2 separate regions of the Homo sapiens genome follow, and region 1 is linked to region 2. The links are contacts of gene promoters, found by promoter capture Hi-C in human tissues and cell types (Jung and others, 2019). All regions are on one chromosome and are shown on one strand. The core of a region is centred on a gene start or on the middle of the fragment in contact, and the rest is flanking DNA. Distances in the headings are between cores, read along the strand shown. Region 1 holds the start of MEFV (MEFV innate immunity regulator, pyrin). Region 2 has its middle 17 kb from the start of ZNF174.

The links. Contacts are between HindIII fragments. The study calls those that stand out against the background at their distance.
Region 1: a contact is called between the fragment with the promoter of MEFV here and a fragment that was not itself captured in region 2, in 1 of the 25 tissues and cell types used here (mesenchymal stem cells).

What each region holds. Positions count from the first base shown.
Region 1 is chr16:3,250,264-3,258,022 of GRCh38, reverse strand. It overlaps MEFV (MEFV innate immunity regulator, pyrin), which reads left to right and starts at 1,390. Exons shown (of 10, transcript NM_000243.3): 1 at 1,390-1,712; 2 at 3,233-3,865. The coding sequence starts at 1,436. The HindIII fragment of the contact is 7,133 bases long and covers 1-2,604 here.
Region 2 is chr16:3,414,786-3,422,435 of GRCh38, reverse strand. No RefSeq gene overlaps it. Among named protein-coding and RNA genes, the nearest start is that of ZNF174, 17 kb to the right of the region's middle. RefSeq lists a silencer at 1,851-2,133. The HindIII fragment of the contact is 7,760 bases long and covers 1-5,588 here.

The sequences.
Region 1 (7,759 bases), core at 141-2,640, 160 kb after region 2:
AGTGAGACCCTGTCTCTATAAAAAATACAAAAATTGGCCAGATGTGGTGGAATGCACCTGTAGTCTCAGCTACTTGGGAGGCTGAGGTTGGAGGGTTGCTCAAGCCCAGGAGGCAGAAGTTGCAGTGAGCCAAGATCCCACTACTGCACTCCAGCCTGAGTGACTGAGCAAGACCCTATCTAAAAATAAAAAAATTAGGGTATGCAACGGTCAGAAGTAGGTAAGTGAGGAGTCAGTTCACCCTACATGTAATTTTTCATTTATTTATTTTTTTTGAGACAAAGTCCCGCTCTGTCGCCCAAGCTGGAGTACAATGGCGCAACCTCGGCTCACTGCAACATCTGCCTCCCATGTTCAAGTGATTCTCCTGCCTCAGCCTCCTGAGTAGCTGGGAGTACAGGTGCGTGCCACCATGCCTGGCTAATTTTTGTATTTTTAGTAGAGATGGGGTTTTACTGTGTTGGCCAGGCTGGTCTTGTACTCCCAACCTGAGGTGATCCACCCACCTCGGCCTCCCAAAGTGCTGGGATTACAGGCGTTAGCCACTGTGCCCTGCCCCCAACATGTAACTTCTGTTAGCTTCAAAGCCACCTCTGGGGCCCTGCACCACATATGAGCTGAAGGACACCCGTGCCTTTTCACCCGTGTAGCTCCAGCATCTTGGCACACTGTCTAGAATGTTCAATGAATGTGCACGGAAGAGCATTCTGGCTCCAGGGAGCGAGGACTGAGTCAGCTCTGGGAACAGATGAGTCAGGCTGGTGGTCCAGGCATTGCTTTTCAAGTCCTTCATGTGGCTGGAAGAACCAGTCAACTGGAACCGGATCAACAGGGGTGATGGCATGGCAAGAGTTATCTCCTGGCAGTGCCCTTCTGGCCTCACTTGCCTTCTTGGGCCAGGAAAGGCAAAGCTCACAGGACTGTATTCAGTGCCCACCCCTTCCCCCGTCCTGTGCCATTGGCTCTGGAAGGTCCCTGAAACCCCGAGTCTGGAGGAGAACAGTTGACCAGCAGGGCGGGCCCTCAGCATAGTCCTCTCTGTTCCCACTCACCCGCTCTGCCAGCCCCAGATCCTGGCAGGAAGGAAGATTGGAGGGGGTGTCTGGAATCCAATCCCAGACCTTCCCTTGCAGACTTGCCCATCTGTCTGTGGTCTAGTGTGGAGGCGAGGTCCAGGGTTTGGGAGGGGTGTGGGGGCACATGTCTGCCAAGGCATGGAGCCCTCCCAGCTGGAAAATCCTCTGAACCTGTAAGAAGAGAACACAGCCGGCATGGACACACCCTTACCCTTAGTCTCAGTTCCCACCAAGACACAGAGCATTTCCTGTGCCTTTTCCGCTATTTCACAACCTGCCTTTTCTTGCTCACCAAGGACAGAGGCTTCTTTTCCTACCAGAAGCCAGACAGCTGGCTCGAGCCTCTCCTGCTCAGCACCATGGCTAAGACCCCTAGTGACCATCTGCTGTCCACCCTGGAGGAGCTGGTGCCCTATGACTTCGAGAAGTTCAAGTTCAAGCTGCAGAACACCAGTGTGCAGAAGGAGCACTCCAGGATCCCCCGGAGCCAGATCCAGAGAGCCAGGCCGGTGAAGATGGCCACTCTGCTGGTCACCTACTATGGGGAAGAGTACGCCGTGCAGCTCACCCTGCAGGTCCTGCGGGCCATCAACCAGCGCCTGCTGGCCGAGGAGCTCCACAGGGCAGCCATTCAGGGTAAGCGGGCCCAGGCCTCCTCCTCATCCAGTGCTGAGTGCTGGCTGCTTTGTGGGAAAGGGGACCAGGAGCTCAGAGCAGCTCACTCTGACCTGGGGATTGGGAGTCTCAGGTCTACCAAAATCCAGATGACTTTAGTTCAGGAACGTCCCTTTCTTCACTCTGGCCTTTGGAACTGGGTTAGTAAACTTCCTTCAGGCTCCTAATGGGTTTTTTAAGAAGCAGGTCAGGGTCACGAAAGGCAGGAGCTGGAACACCTGTTCTTTGAGACTTCTTCACTACATTTATGATTAATACTCATGTCAGACAAACATCTCTAGGTTAGCAAAAAGGGATTGCTATGCAATCATATGAACGGGGTTGGTATAGAATCTTCTCAGTGCTGTTCACCATGTTGGCCAGGCTGGTCTCGAACTCCTGACCTCAAGTGATCCTCCCGCCTCAGCCTCCCAAAGTGCTGGGATTTCAGACATAGGCCACCGTGCCCGGCTTATTTTTATTTTTAAAGCGTATAATCTGGGTTTTGCTGACCTGTGTAAGATCTTATTTGAAACAGTTGTCCTGCTTAAAACGTTTGAAAAGTACTATTTGAGAAATATAGGCTAGGCATGGTGGCTCACACTTATAAATAATCTCAGCACTTTGGGAGGCTAAGGTGGGTGGATTGCTAGAGCTCAGGAGTTTGAGACCAGCTTGGGCAACATGGTGAAACCCTGTCTCTACCAAAAATACAAAAAAATGAGCCAGGCGTGGTAGCACACACCTGTATTTTCAGCTATTGAAAAAACAGAAAACAGGCTGAGGTGAGAGGATTGCTTGAGCCTGGGAGGCAGAGGTTGCAGTGAGCTGAGATCACATCAGGGCAACAGAGCAAGATCCTGTCTCAAAAAATAAAATAAGAGAGAGAGAAATACATAGCAACATCAAGCATGTTCTTACTGAATGGTAATTGACTGCCATTGTCTAGTCTAGGAAGTCCTGAACTTTTGTTTTTGAGATGGAGTCTTGCTCTGTCACTCAGGCTGGAGTGCAGTGGCCCGATCTCAGCTCACTGCAACCTCCACATCCCGGGCTCAAGCGATTCTCATGCCTCAGCCTCCCGAGTAGCTGGGACTACAGGTGCGCACCACCGCGTCTGGCTGAGTTTCTTATTTTTAGTAGGAACGGGGTTTTGCCATGTTGGCCAGGCTGGTCTCGAACTCCTGACCTCAAATGATCCTCCCACCTTGGCCTCTGGAGAAGCTGGGATTACAGGCATGCGCCACCACGCTCAGCTTATTTTTGTATTTTTAGTAGAGACGGGGTTTCACCCTGTTGGTCTTGAACTCCTGATCTCAGGTGATCCTCCCGCCTCGGCCTCCCAGAGTGCCGGGAATACAGGCATGAGCCACCGCGCCCGGCCCGTTGTTTTCCTCAATTTCTAAACTTTAATATCCAAGGGGATTCTCTCTCCTCTGCCCTGAATCTTGGGCCCTAAACGTGGGACAGCTTCATCATTTTGCATCTGGTTGTCCTTCCAGAATATTCCACACAAGAAAACGGCACAGATGATTCCGCAGCGTCCAGCTCCCTGGGGGAGAACAAGCCCAGGAGCCTGAAGACTCCAGACCACCCCGAGGGGAACGAGGGGAACGGCCCTCGGCCGTACGGGGGCGGAGCTGCCAGCCTGCGGTGCAGCCAGCCCGAGGCCGGGAGGGGGCTGTCGAGGAAGCCCCTGAGCAAACGCAGAGAGAAGGCCTCGGAGGGCCTGGACGCGCAGGGCAAGCCTCGGACCCGGAGCCCGGCCCTGCCGGGCGGGAGAAGCCCCGGCCCCTGCAGGGCGCTAGAGGGGGGCCAGGCCGAGGTCCGGCTGCGCAGAAACGCCAGCTCCGCGGGGAGGCTGCAGGGGCTGGCGGGGGGCGCCCCGGGGCAGAAGGAGTGCAGGCCCTTCGAAGTGTACCTGCCCTCGGGAAAGATGCGACCTAGAAGCCTTGAGGTCACCATTTCTACAGGGGAGAAGGCGCCCGCAAATCCAGAAATTCTCCTGACTCTAGAGGAAAAGACAGCTGCGAATCTGGACTCGGCAACAGAACCCCGGGCAAGGCCCACTCCGGATGGAGGGGCATCTGCGGACCTGAAGGAAGGCCCTGGAAATCCAGAACATTCGGTCACCGGTAAATTGTGTTCTTTCCTACTTTATATCGGCTGCAGAGAAAGAATGGCTGGCCGGGCACGATAGCTCATGCCTGTAATCCCAGCGCTTTGGGAGGCCAGGGCGGGAGGATTGCTGGAGGCCAAGACTTTGAGACCAGCCTGGTGAATGTAGTGAGACCCCCGCCATCTCTATAAACGAAATTAAAAAAATAAAAACCCAAAGGTTGGGCAGGGCGTGGTAGCTCTCGCCTGTAATCCCAGAGCTTTGAGAGGCCTGCACGGGAGGATCTCTTGACCCCAGGAGTTCCATACTAGCCTAGGCAACACAGTGAGACCCCATCTCTACAAAATACAATAGTGGCACGCGCCTGTAGTCCCAGCTGCTCGGGTTCACTTGAGCAGACGGAGTTCCAGGCTACAGTGAGCTGAGATCATGCCACTGCACACCAGCCTGAGCAACGTAGCCAGACTCCACTTCTACAAAACTAAAAAAAAAATTAGCTGGGTATGGTGGCACACGCCTGTAATTCTAGCCACTCAGGAAGCTGAGGCAGGAGGATTGCTTGAGCCAGGGAGTTCCAGGCTGCAGTGAGCTGAGGATGTGCCACTGCACTCCGGCCTGGGCAACAGAGCAAGACCCTGTCTCTTAAACATTTTGGGGGGAAAAAAAAAGAAAGAAAGAATGTCCGATTGAAAAAGGCAATCAGGTGTTATCAGTGGCCAAAGAATGGAGAAGGGGAGCTCACCTCTGCAGGCGTCTGCTTGCCAGGGATGGGAGGCAGGGCGATTTTAGAGTCCAGGGAGGGGAAGGGAGATAGGTAAGCAGGCCCAGGGCAGGGTTCCATATGTGCAGGCGCTGTCCCCAGCATGCTTCTTCCTACATCGCATGGACACAAAACCCTGGCCATCTTCTTTTAGGGGAGGGACCTTTAGCCTTATAACAATGTGTAAATGATCTTAAGGTAACTGGAAGTCACCTCTTCCAGTTTGCACTGGTTTTGCTCTGATCTTAACTTCCTCTGGTTTTTGGCAAGGGATCAGGAGGCTCCAGGCCATCTGGATTTTTTTAAGCAGCTGTCCCTATAGGTAAAGAGACTAAAAAAAAACTGTAAAAGAAAAATGCCACCAGTTTAGAGGGTACCGAGGCTATCCAGGTGACAATTCCATGCTCGTGGTGGGGGCAGCATTCAGAAACACACTTTCCTTTTTTTTTTTTTTTTTTTTTTTTGAGACAGAGTCTCAGTCTGTCTCCCATGCTGGAGTGCAGTAGTGTGAGCACAGTTTACTGCAGCCTCAACCTCCTAGGCTCAAGCGATCCTCCCACCTCAGCCTTCCAAGTAGCTGAGACTATAGGTGCTCACCACCACACCTGGTTAATTTTTTTTTTTTTTTTTGTATTTTTTGTAGTTACGAGGACTGTCTATGTTGCCCAGGCTGGTTTTGAACTCTTGGGCTCAAGCGATCCCCCGCCTTAGCCTCTAAAAGTGCTAGGATTTCAGGTGTGAGTCACTACACCCAGCCTATGGAACACACTTTCCAATGCATTGTTGGCTGGAGAGGAGAAATCACAGCACTCAAGGAGGAGAAATAGAATTGGGGGTCCAGGCCGGGTGCGGTGGCTCATACCTGTAATCCCAGCACTTTGGGAGGCCAATGGGGGCGGATCACCTGAGGTGAGGAGTTCGAGACCAGCCTGCCAACATGGTGAAACGCCATCTCTACTAAAAATACTAAATTTGCTGGGCGTGGTGGCGGGTGTCCATAATCCCAGCTACTCAGAAGGCTTCGAGGCAGGAGAATTGCTTGAACCGAGGAGGCAGAGGTTGCAGTGAGCCAAGATCATGCCACTGCACTCTAGCCTGGGCGACAAGAGCAAAACTCTGTCTCAAAAAAAAAAAAAAAAAAGAATTGGGAGTCCAGGGACCCCTGAGACCTGGGAGGGGAAAGGATGTGGTATGCTGCATGAGTCTTCAAATCCAGAAGTCCCTGGGTCTTCCAGTGAGAAAGGACCCTGGGATCTGGAAAACCTAGCATCCTTAGGAATAGTGACCTGAAAAGTACTGAAGTATTTCCCCCCTAATTTTCTTTTATCCCTACTGTATTTTTTTTAATTTTTTTTTTTTTTTAGATATGGGGTCTTGCTATGTTGCCCAGGTTGGTCTCGAACTCCTGATCTCAAACAATCCTCCCATCTTTGCCTCCGAAACTGCTGGGATTACAGGTGTGCACCACTGCACCAGGTCCCCACTGTATTTATATCATTGGGATTCCTGGGTGTCTTCTAGGGCCGCTTCGTTAATCTGATGCAGGCTTAGACCCTGAAAAATGCATATATGCACAGCTTCACAAATGTCACATCAAATTTCAGGTAGTTCTTGGACACTCTGAAGACCATCTTTAGAATCCAAGGGGTTTATGGACACCAGGTAGAAAATCTGGGGAAGACTGGTTAAAAATACTCCCTCTCACAATAACCTCACAGCAATGCATCATCATGGGGTTGAGATTCTACCATTTGCCTTTCTCTCAGCAGAAAGAAAAGCCTATTGGCTAAAGTCCTAACTATCTACTGCTGAGGTAGTCATTAAAATTATGTTTGGTTGTGAATAATAGAAACACCCAAATAACAGTAACCTCAACAGAAAAGAAGTTTGTGCCTCCTTCACATAAATGATACACAGGCGGTCCCAGGCAGATCCGTGGGCCAGGACCCTGGGGTCCTGCTGTTGCTCTGTCCCACCAAGTTTGTCCTCAAGCTTCTGCTCTCAGAAGGTGACGTCCTCATGCCAGGCAGCAAGATGGAGGAACAGAGGGGAATAGTATCCCTCGGGAAAGCTCTAGAAGTTTCTAGAAGCTGCTTGTGACACCTCCATTTACATCCCTTTGGTCATATTATTGTCAAATAGCCACACCTAACTGCAAAGGAGGCTGAGAAATGCAGGGCATTTGGGGGGCAATGGGAGGCAGGGAAACAGGGAAACGTGGACAATTAATTCTATCACGAGAGAAGGAGGGAGAATAATTTCTGGTGACTACTAGCAGTCTCATTTACAGATGTGCTGTGAATTTCTGGGACACTGTGAGGTGGGAGGAGGTAGCAGGGGCTAAAGGATTGAGTGTGTTTCTATTTCTTTTTTTTTTTTTTTTTTTTTTTGAGATGGAGTCTCTCTTGGTCACCCAGACTGGAGTGCAGTGGCGCAACTTCAGCTCACTGCAAACTCCGCCTCCCGGGTTCAAGCAATTCTCCTGCCTCAGCCTCCCGAGTAGCTGGGATTACAGGTGCCCACCACCACGTCCGGCTAATTTTTGTATTTTTAGTAGAGACAGGGTTTCACCATCTTGGCCAGGCTGGTCTTGAACTCCTGACCTCATGACCCACCCGCCTCGGCCTCCCAAAGTGCTGGGATTACAGGCGTGAGCCACTGCGCTCGGCCTTGTGTTTCTATTTCTTCTTGTATCTCGTGGCATGTCTGCTTATGAAGTTGCAATTAGAGTCTTGGAGTAGAGCTATTCATAACTGTTAGGTCTTCATGATGAGTTCCAGTCTTTAGCCCTATAATGCCCCCCTTCTTTGCTTTTTCTTTTAAGATGGCATCTTACTCTGTTGCCCAGGCTGGAGTGCAGTGGTGCAGCATCAACCTCCTAGGTTCAAGCAATCCTCCTGTCTCAGCCTCCCAAGTAGCTGGGATTAGAGGTGTGCACCACCACACCTGGCTAATTTTTTAATTTTTTGTAGAGGTGGGCTCTTGCCATGTTGCCCAGGCTGGTCTCAAACTCCTGAGCTTAAGCAGTCCTCCCACCTTGGCCTCCCAAAGCACTGGGATTATAGGCATGAGCCACCACCCAGCCCCTTCTTTGCTTTCATTTAATGGTTATTGAACTCATATGTGAGCAGTGGTCTATTTATTCCTTCA
Region 2 (7,650 bases), core at 459-2,958:
GGTGAAAGATCCCTACAATGAGAATTACAGCACACAGCTGAAATAAATCAGAGATGACACAAATGGAAAAACATCCCATGCTCATGGATTGGAAGAATAAATATCATTAAAATGGACATATTGCCCAAAGCAATTTGTAGATTCAATGCTATTCCTATCAAACTACCAATGACATTCTTCATAGAATTATAAAAAACTATTTTAAAATTCACATGGAACCAGCTGGCTGCGGTGACTCACACCTGTAATCCCAGCACTTTGGGAGGCCGAGATGGGCAGATTACGAGATCAGGAGATTGAGACCATCCTGGCTAACACGGCGAAACCCCATCTTTACTAAAAATACCAAAAAAAAAAAAATTAGCTGGGCATGGTGGCAGGTGCCTGTAGTCCCAGCTACACATGAGGCTGAGGCAGAAGAATGGCATGAACCCGAGAGGCGGAGCTTGCAGTGAGCCAAGATTGCGCCACTGCACTCCAGCCTGGGCAACAGAGCAAGACTCTGTCTCAAAAAAAAAAAAAAAAAATTCACATGGAACCAAAAAGAGCCTGAATAGCCAAGGCAATCCTAAGCAAAAAGAACAAAGTTGGAGGCATCACATTACCTGACTTCAAACTGTCCTACAGGGCTACAGTAACCAAAACAGCATGGTACTGGTACAAAAACAGGCACATAGGCCAATGGAACAGAATAGAGAGACCAGAAATAAGGCCACACTCCTAAGATCATCTGATCTTCAATAAAGCTGACAAAAACAAGCAATGGTGTGTGGGTGGAGGGAATCCCTGTTCAATAAATGGTGCTGGGATAATTGGCTAGCCATATGCAGAAGATTGAAACTGGACCCCTTCTTTACACCATATACAAAAATCAACTCAAGATGGATTAAAGACTTAAATGTAAAATCCAAAGCTATAAAAACCCTAGAAGACAACCGAGGCAATACCGTCTTGGACATAGGATCGAAAATATTTCATGACAAAGACTCCAAAAGCAATTGCAACAAAAGCAAAAATTGAGACATGGGACCTAATTGAACTAAAGAGCTTCCTCTGCACAGCAAAAGAAACTATCAACAGAGTAAACAGACAACCTCCAGAATGGAAGAAAATATTTGCAAATATGCGTCTGACAAAGGTCTAATATCCAGCATCTATAAGGAATGTAAACAAATTTGCAAGAGAAAAACAACCCCATTAAAAAGTAGGCAAAGGACATGAACAGACAATTTTCAAAAGAAGACATACATGCAACCAACAATCATAAGAAAAAAAGCTCAATATCACTAATCATTAAAGAAATGCAAATCAAAACCATAATGAGATACCATCTCACACCAGTGATAATGGCTGTTATTAAAAAGTCAAAAAATATGCTGGCAAGATTGCAGAGAAAAGGGAACACTTATACACTGTTAGTGGGAGTATAAATTTCGCCCAACCATTGTGGAGAGCAGTATGGCGATTCCTCAAAGTGCTAAAAAGAGAACTACAGTTTGACCCCACAATCCCATTACTGGGTATGTACCCAGAGAAATATAAATCATTCTCTTGTAAAGACACATGCACATGAATGTTCACAGCAGCACCATTCACAATAACAAAGACGTGGAATCAAAGGCCCATCAGTGACGACTGGATAAAGAAAACGTACATATACACCATGAAATACCGTGCAGCCATAAAAAAGAATGAGATCATGTCTTTTGCAGGAATATCGATGGAGTTGGAGGCCAGAAACTACTGGCAGGAACAGAAAATACTGCACGGAACTTTCTTTCTTTCTTTCTTTCTTTCTTTCTTTCTTTCTTTCTTTCTTTCTTTCTTTCTTTCTTTCTCTCTCTCTCTCTCTCTCTCTTTCTTTCGTCTCTCTCTCTTTCTGTGTTTCTTTCTTTCTTTTTTTTGATGGAGTCTCACTCTGTCAACCCCTGCTGCAGTGCAGTGGTAGGACCTCAGTTCACTGCAACCTCTGCCTCCCCGGTTCAAGCGATTCTCCTGCCTCAGCCTCCCGAGTAGCTGGGACTACAGGTGCATGCCAGCATGCCCGGCTAATTTTTGTATTTTTAGTAGAGACGGGGTTTTGTCATATTGTCCAGGCTGGTCTCGAACTCCTGACCTCATGATCTGCCCACCTTGGCCTCCCAAAGTGCTGGGATTACAGGCATGAGCCACCGCACCCAGCCTGCATGGAACTTTCAATACTGTTCCACTGACCAGCCATACTCCCATCGCTCTTCCTCTCCTTGGACCTCCCTTTTCCCTGAGACACAAAAATATTGACATTAGACCACTTAATAACTCTACGATGACCTCTAAGTGTTCAAGTGAAAGGAAGAGTCACACATCTCTCACTTTATTTATTTATTTTTGGAGATGGAGTCTCGCTCTGTCGCCCAGGCTGGAGTGCAGTGTCGTGATCTTGGCTCACTACATCCTCTGCCTTCCAGGTTCAAGCGATTCTCCTGCCTCAGCCTCCTGAGTAGCTAGGACTACAGGTGTGCACCACCACTCCTGGCTAATTTTTGTATTATTAGTAGAGATGGGGTTTCACCATGTTGGCCAGGTTGGTCTCCAACTCTTGACCTTGTGATCCACCCACCCCAGCCTCCCAAAGTGCTGAGATTACAGGCATGAACCACCCCTTGGCCCATCTCTCACTTTAAATCAAAAGGTAGAAATGATTAAGCTTAGTGAGAAAGGCATGTCAAAACCTGAGACAGGCCAAAAGCTAGGTTTCTTGTGCCAAATGTTTAACCAAATTGTGAATTCAAAGGAAAAGTTCTTGAAGGAAATTTAAAGTGCTACTCCAGTGAACACATGAATGATAAAAAAGTGAAACAGTCTTTTTGCTGATATGGGGCAAGTTTGAGTGGTGTGGATAGAAGATCAAACCAGCCACAACATTCCCTTAAACTAAAGCCTAATCCAGAGCAAGGCCCAAACTCTCTTCAGTTCTGTGAAGGCTGAGAGAGGTGAAGAAGGTGCAGAAGAAATGTTGGGAAGTAACAAAAGTTGGTTCATGAGGTTTAAGGAGAAAAGCCATCTCCATAATATAAAAGTGCAAGGTGAAGCTTCAAGTGCTGATGGAGAAACTGCAGCATGTTATCCAGAAGATCTAGCTAAGATCATTGATGAAAGTGGCTACAATAAGAACAGATTTTCAATGTAGACAAAACAGCCTGCTATTGGGGAAAGATGCCATCTAAGACTTTTGTAGCTAGAGAGGAGAAGTCAATGCCTGGCTTCAAAGCCTTAAAGGGCAGGCTGACTCTTTTGTTGGGGTGAATGCCGTTGGTGAAGCCAGTTCTCATTTACCATTCTGAAAAATCCTGAAGCCCTTAAGAATTATGTTTATTCTGCCTGTGCTCTATCAGTTGAACAACAAAGACTGGATGACAACCTATGTGTTTACAGCATGGTTTGCTGAATATTTTAAGCCCATTGTTGAGACCTACTGCTCAGAAAAAAAAATATTCCTTTCCAAATATTACAGTTTATTACAATGCACCTGGACAACCAAGAGCTCTGATGGAGATATACAAGGAAGTTAATGTTTTCATGCCTGCTAACACAACATTTATTCTGCAGCCCATGGATCAAAGAGTAATTTCATTCTTCTCTTTATTTCATTTTATTTTTTTGAGATGGGCTCTCACTCCCCCAGACTAGACTGCAGTGGTACAATCATAATTCATTGCAGCCTAGCTCCTGGGCTCAAGTAATCCTCCTGCCTTGGCCTCCCAAGCAGCTGAGACTACAGCATGTGCCACCACACTTGTCCAATTTTTTAAATTTTTCTGTAGGCTGGGTGTGGTGGCTCACGCCTGTAATACCAACACTTTGGGAGGCCAAGGCAGGCAGATCACAAGGTAAGGAGATCAAGACCATCCTGGCTAACACGGTAAAACCCTGTCTTTACTAAAAATACAAAAAATTTGCCGGGCGTGGTGGCATGTGCCTGTAGTCCCAGCTACTCAGGAGGCCGAGGCAGGAGAATTGCTTGAGCCTGGGAGGTGGAGGTTGCCGTGAGCCAAGGTTGCACCACTGAACTCCAGCCTGGTGACACAGCAAGACTCTGTCTCAAAAAAAAATGTTTTTCTCTGTAGCGATGGGGACTTGATATGTTGCCCAGGCTGGTCTTGAACTCCTGGGCTCAAGTGATCCTCCCACCTCAGCCTCCCAAAGTGCTGGGATTACAGGCATGAGACACTGCTCCCAACCATAAGTGTTTGGTTTTGTTTTGTTTTTGCTTTTGTTTTTGTTTTTTTTGAGACAGTCTCACTGTGTTTCCCAGGCTGGAGTGCAGTGGCGTGATCTCAGCTCACTGCAACCTCCAACTCCTGGATTCAAGCGATTCTCCTGCCTCAGCCTCCTGAGTAGCTGGGAGTACAGGAGCACGCCACCACACCCAGCTAATTTTTCTATTTTTGTGGAGATGGGTTTTGCCATGTTGGCCAGGCTTGTCTGGAACTCCTGACCTCAAGTGATCTGGGTGCCTCAGCCTCCCAAATTGCTAGGATTACAGGTATGAGCCATGACACCCAACCATTTTGTTTTTTGAGACAGGGTCTTGCTCTGTCACTCTGGCTGAAGTACAAATGGCACAATCACAACTCACTGCAGCCTCAACCTCCTAGGCTCAAGTGATCCTCCCACCTCAGGCTCCCAAGTAGCTGGGACTACAGGCATGCACCACCATGCCCAGCTAATTTTTTAATTGTTTTGTAGAGTTGGGGTCTTCCCTGTGTTAACTCCTGGGCTCAGAGAGCAGTCCTCCCACCTTGGTCTCCCAGATTGCTGGGATTACAGACATGAGCCACTTGCACAGCCCAAAAGTGTTTTTTTGAGATGGAATCTACTCTTGGTAAAGATGCTGTGAATGTTGTTGAAATGACAATAGGATTTAGAATATTACATAAACTTAGTTAATGAAGGAGCAGCAGGATTTGAGAAGATTTTGAAAGTTCTACTGTGGACAAAATGCTATCACCCTGTATCACATGCTATGGAGAAATCTTTTGTGAAAGGAAGAGTCAACTGATTTGAAAAACTTCATTGTTATTTTAAGAAATTGTCCCTGCCACCCCAACCCTCTGCAGCCACCACACTTATCAGCATTTTGTTTATCTGATGTAATGCTTTTCCACACTTAATAGACTACAGTATAGTGTAAACATAGGTTTTATATTCACCAGGAAATCAAAACATTTGTGTGGCTCATTTTATTGGGACATTCACTTTATTGTAGGGGTCTGGAATCAAAACTGCAATATCTGTGAGGATACTGTATACAACTAAGGTACGTTATTCACAGTAGCCAAGACTTGAAAACAACCTAAGTGTCCACTGGTAGATAAATGGATACACACACACACACACACACACACACACACACAGAGCGGAACATTATTCAGCCTTAAAAAGGAGATCTATCTGCCAGGTGCAGTGGCTTACCCCTGTAATCCCAGCACTTTGGGAGGCCAAGGTGGGTGGACTGCTTGAGCCCAGGAGTTTGAGACCAGCCTGGGTAACATAGTGAGACCCCGTGTCTACAGAAAAAAATGTTTTACAAAATAAGCCACGTGTGATGGCACACGCCTGTAGTCCTAGCTACTTGGGAGGCTGAGGCGGGAGGACGACTTGATTCCGGGAGGTCAAGTGACTGCAGTGAGCTATGATTGCACCACTACACTCCAGCCTGGGTGACAGAGCAAGACTCTGTCTCAAAAAAAAAAAAAAAAAAAAAAGATTCTACCATTTTCAACAACATGAATGAACCTGTTGGACTTTGTGCTAACTGAAGTAAGCTAGACATAGAAAGAAAAAATACTACATGATCCCACTTATATACAAAATCTAAAAAAGTCAAATACATAAAAGCAGAGTAGGGTGGGTGCGGTAGCTCATGCCTGTAACCCCAGCACTTTGGGAGGTCGAAGCAGGCAGATCACCTCAGGTCAGGAGTTCGAGACCAGCCTGGGCAACATGGTGAAACTCCATCTCTACTAAAAATACAAAAATTAGCCGGGCATGGTGGCAGCATGCCTGTAATCCCAGCTACTTGGGAGGCTGAGGCAGGAGATTTGCTTGAACCTGGGAGGTGGAGGTTGCAGTGAACTGAGATCGCACCACTGCACTCCAGCCTGGGCAACAGAGCGAGACTGCATCCTCACCAAAAAAACCAACAAAAAACAGAGTAGAATGGTGGTGGGGGCGGGGGCGGGGGAGGAAATGGGGAAATGTAGGTGAGAGGGTATAAAGTTGCAGTTATATAGGATGACTAAGTCTAGAAAGCTGATGTACAATATGATGATTATACTTAATGATATAGTACTGGAAATTTGATAAGAGTACATTTCAGGTATTCTTACTAGAGGAAAAAAATTTAAGGTAACTGTGTGAGGAGATGGATATGTTAATTTGCTTGACTATATTAATCATTTCACTATGTATATGTATATCAGAATATCATGTTGTACATCTTAAGTGTTGTACACGCTGTGGCCAGGAAGATGGAGTAGACTGTTCAGGTTGGATTCTCATGTGCTGTCCTGGAGTTGGTATCAGTTCTACCAAAATCACAGGGATTAAGTGTGAAGGAAGGATCACTTGAGTCCAGGAGTTCAGGGCTACAGTGAACCATGATTGTACCACTGTACTCCAGCCTGGGCAACAGAGTGAGACCCTACCTCAAAAAAGAGAAGAAGGAGAAGAGAGGATGGGTGCTTGGGTTAAAAATAATAGTTAAATCAGAGTAGAGAATCAGAGAGGTAATTAGAATAGTTATAAAAGTGGCTAACACCATTCAAGTGCGGGTCCTATGCCAGCCCTCCTATGCTAAGCACTTTTCCTGGATTATTTCACCATTATCATCACATTTCACACATCAGAAAATATAGGACCAGGTTGTAGGGTATGTTGGGCAGGCAGTAGGAGACAGGATGGAAGGTGCACTGGAGGTGTGTTGTTACATCTCTCAACTTCCTATGAGCTGTACAAACTCCAGAAACATTATTGAATCTCAGTCTCCTCAAATGCCAGGAAGATAATCATAGGGTCTATCTCGAATATGCTAGTCAAAGCAGATGTGCTGTCAGTTGTATCTCTGTGAGGAATCGCTGTCGTCATCAAGTGATCGCCCTGGCAAGAGAATGTTTGGGGGTGGCATAAAGACCTTCCTACCTTTGGCTGGGCGTAGTGGCTCACGCCTGTAATCCCTGCACCTTGGGAGGCCAAGGCGGGTAGATCACCCATTTGAGACCAGCCTAACCAACATGGAGAAACCCTGTCTCTACTAAAAATACAAAATTGGCCGGTTGTGTGTAATCCCAGCTACTCGGGAGGCTGAGGCAGGAGAATTGCTTGAACCCAGGAGGCGGCAGTTGCGGTGAGCTGAGATCGCGCCATTGCGCTCCAGCCTGGGCAACAATAACGAAACTCCATCTCAAAAACAAAACACAAAACATAACAAAAAAACAAAACGAAACAAAACAAAAACCTTTCTATCTTTATAAATTAGATCCTTCCTCAGTCACTTGTTATTGTGCCATTTCTGTTTTAACATTTCTTTTAGGAGCTGTGTGGTTGCAGTTTTGCCTTTGTGTAATTATTTGATTCAGATGTGTTCCTTGCTGGAGACTAGGCTTTTTT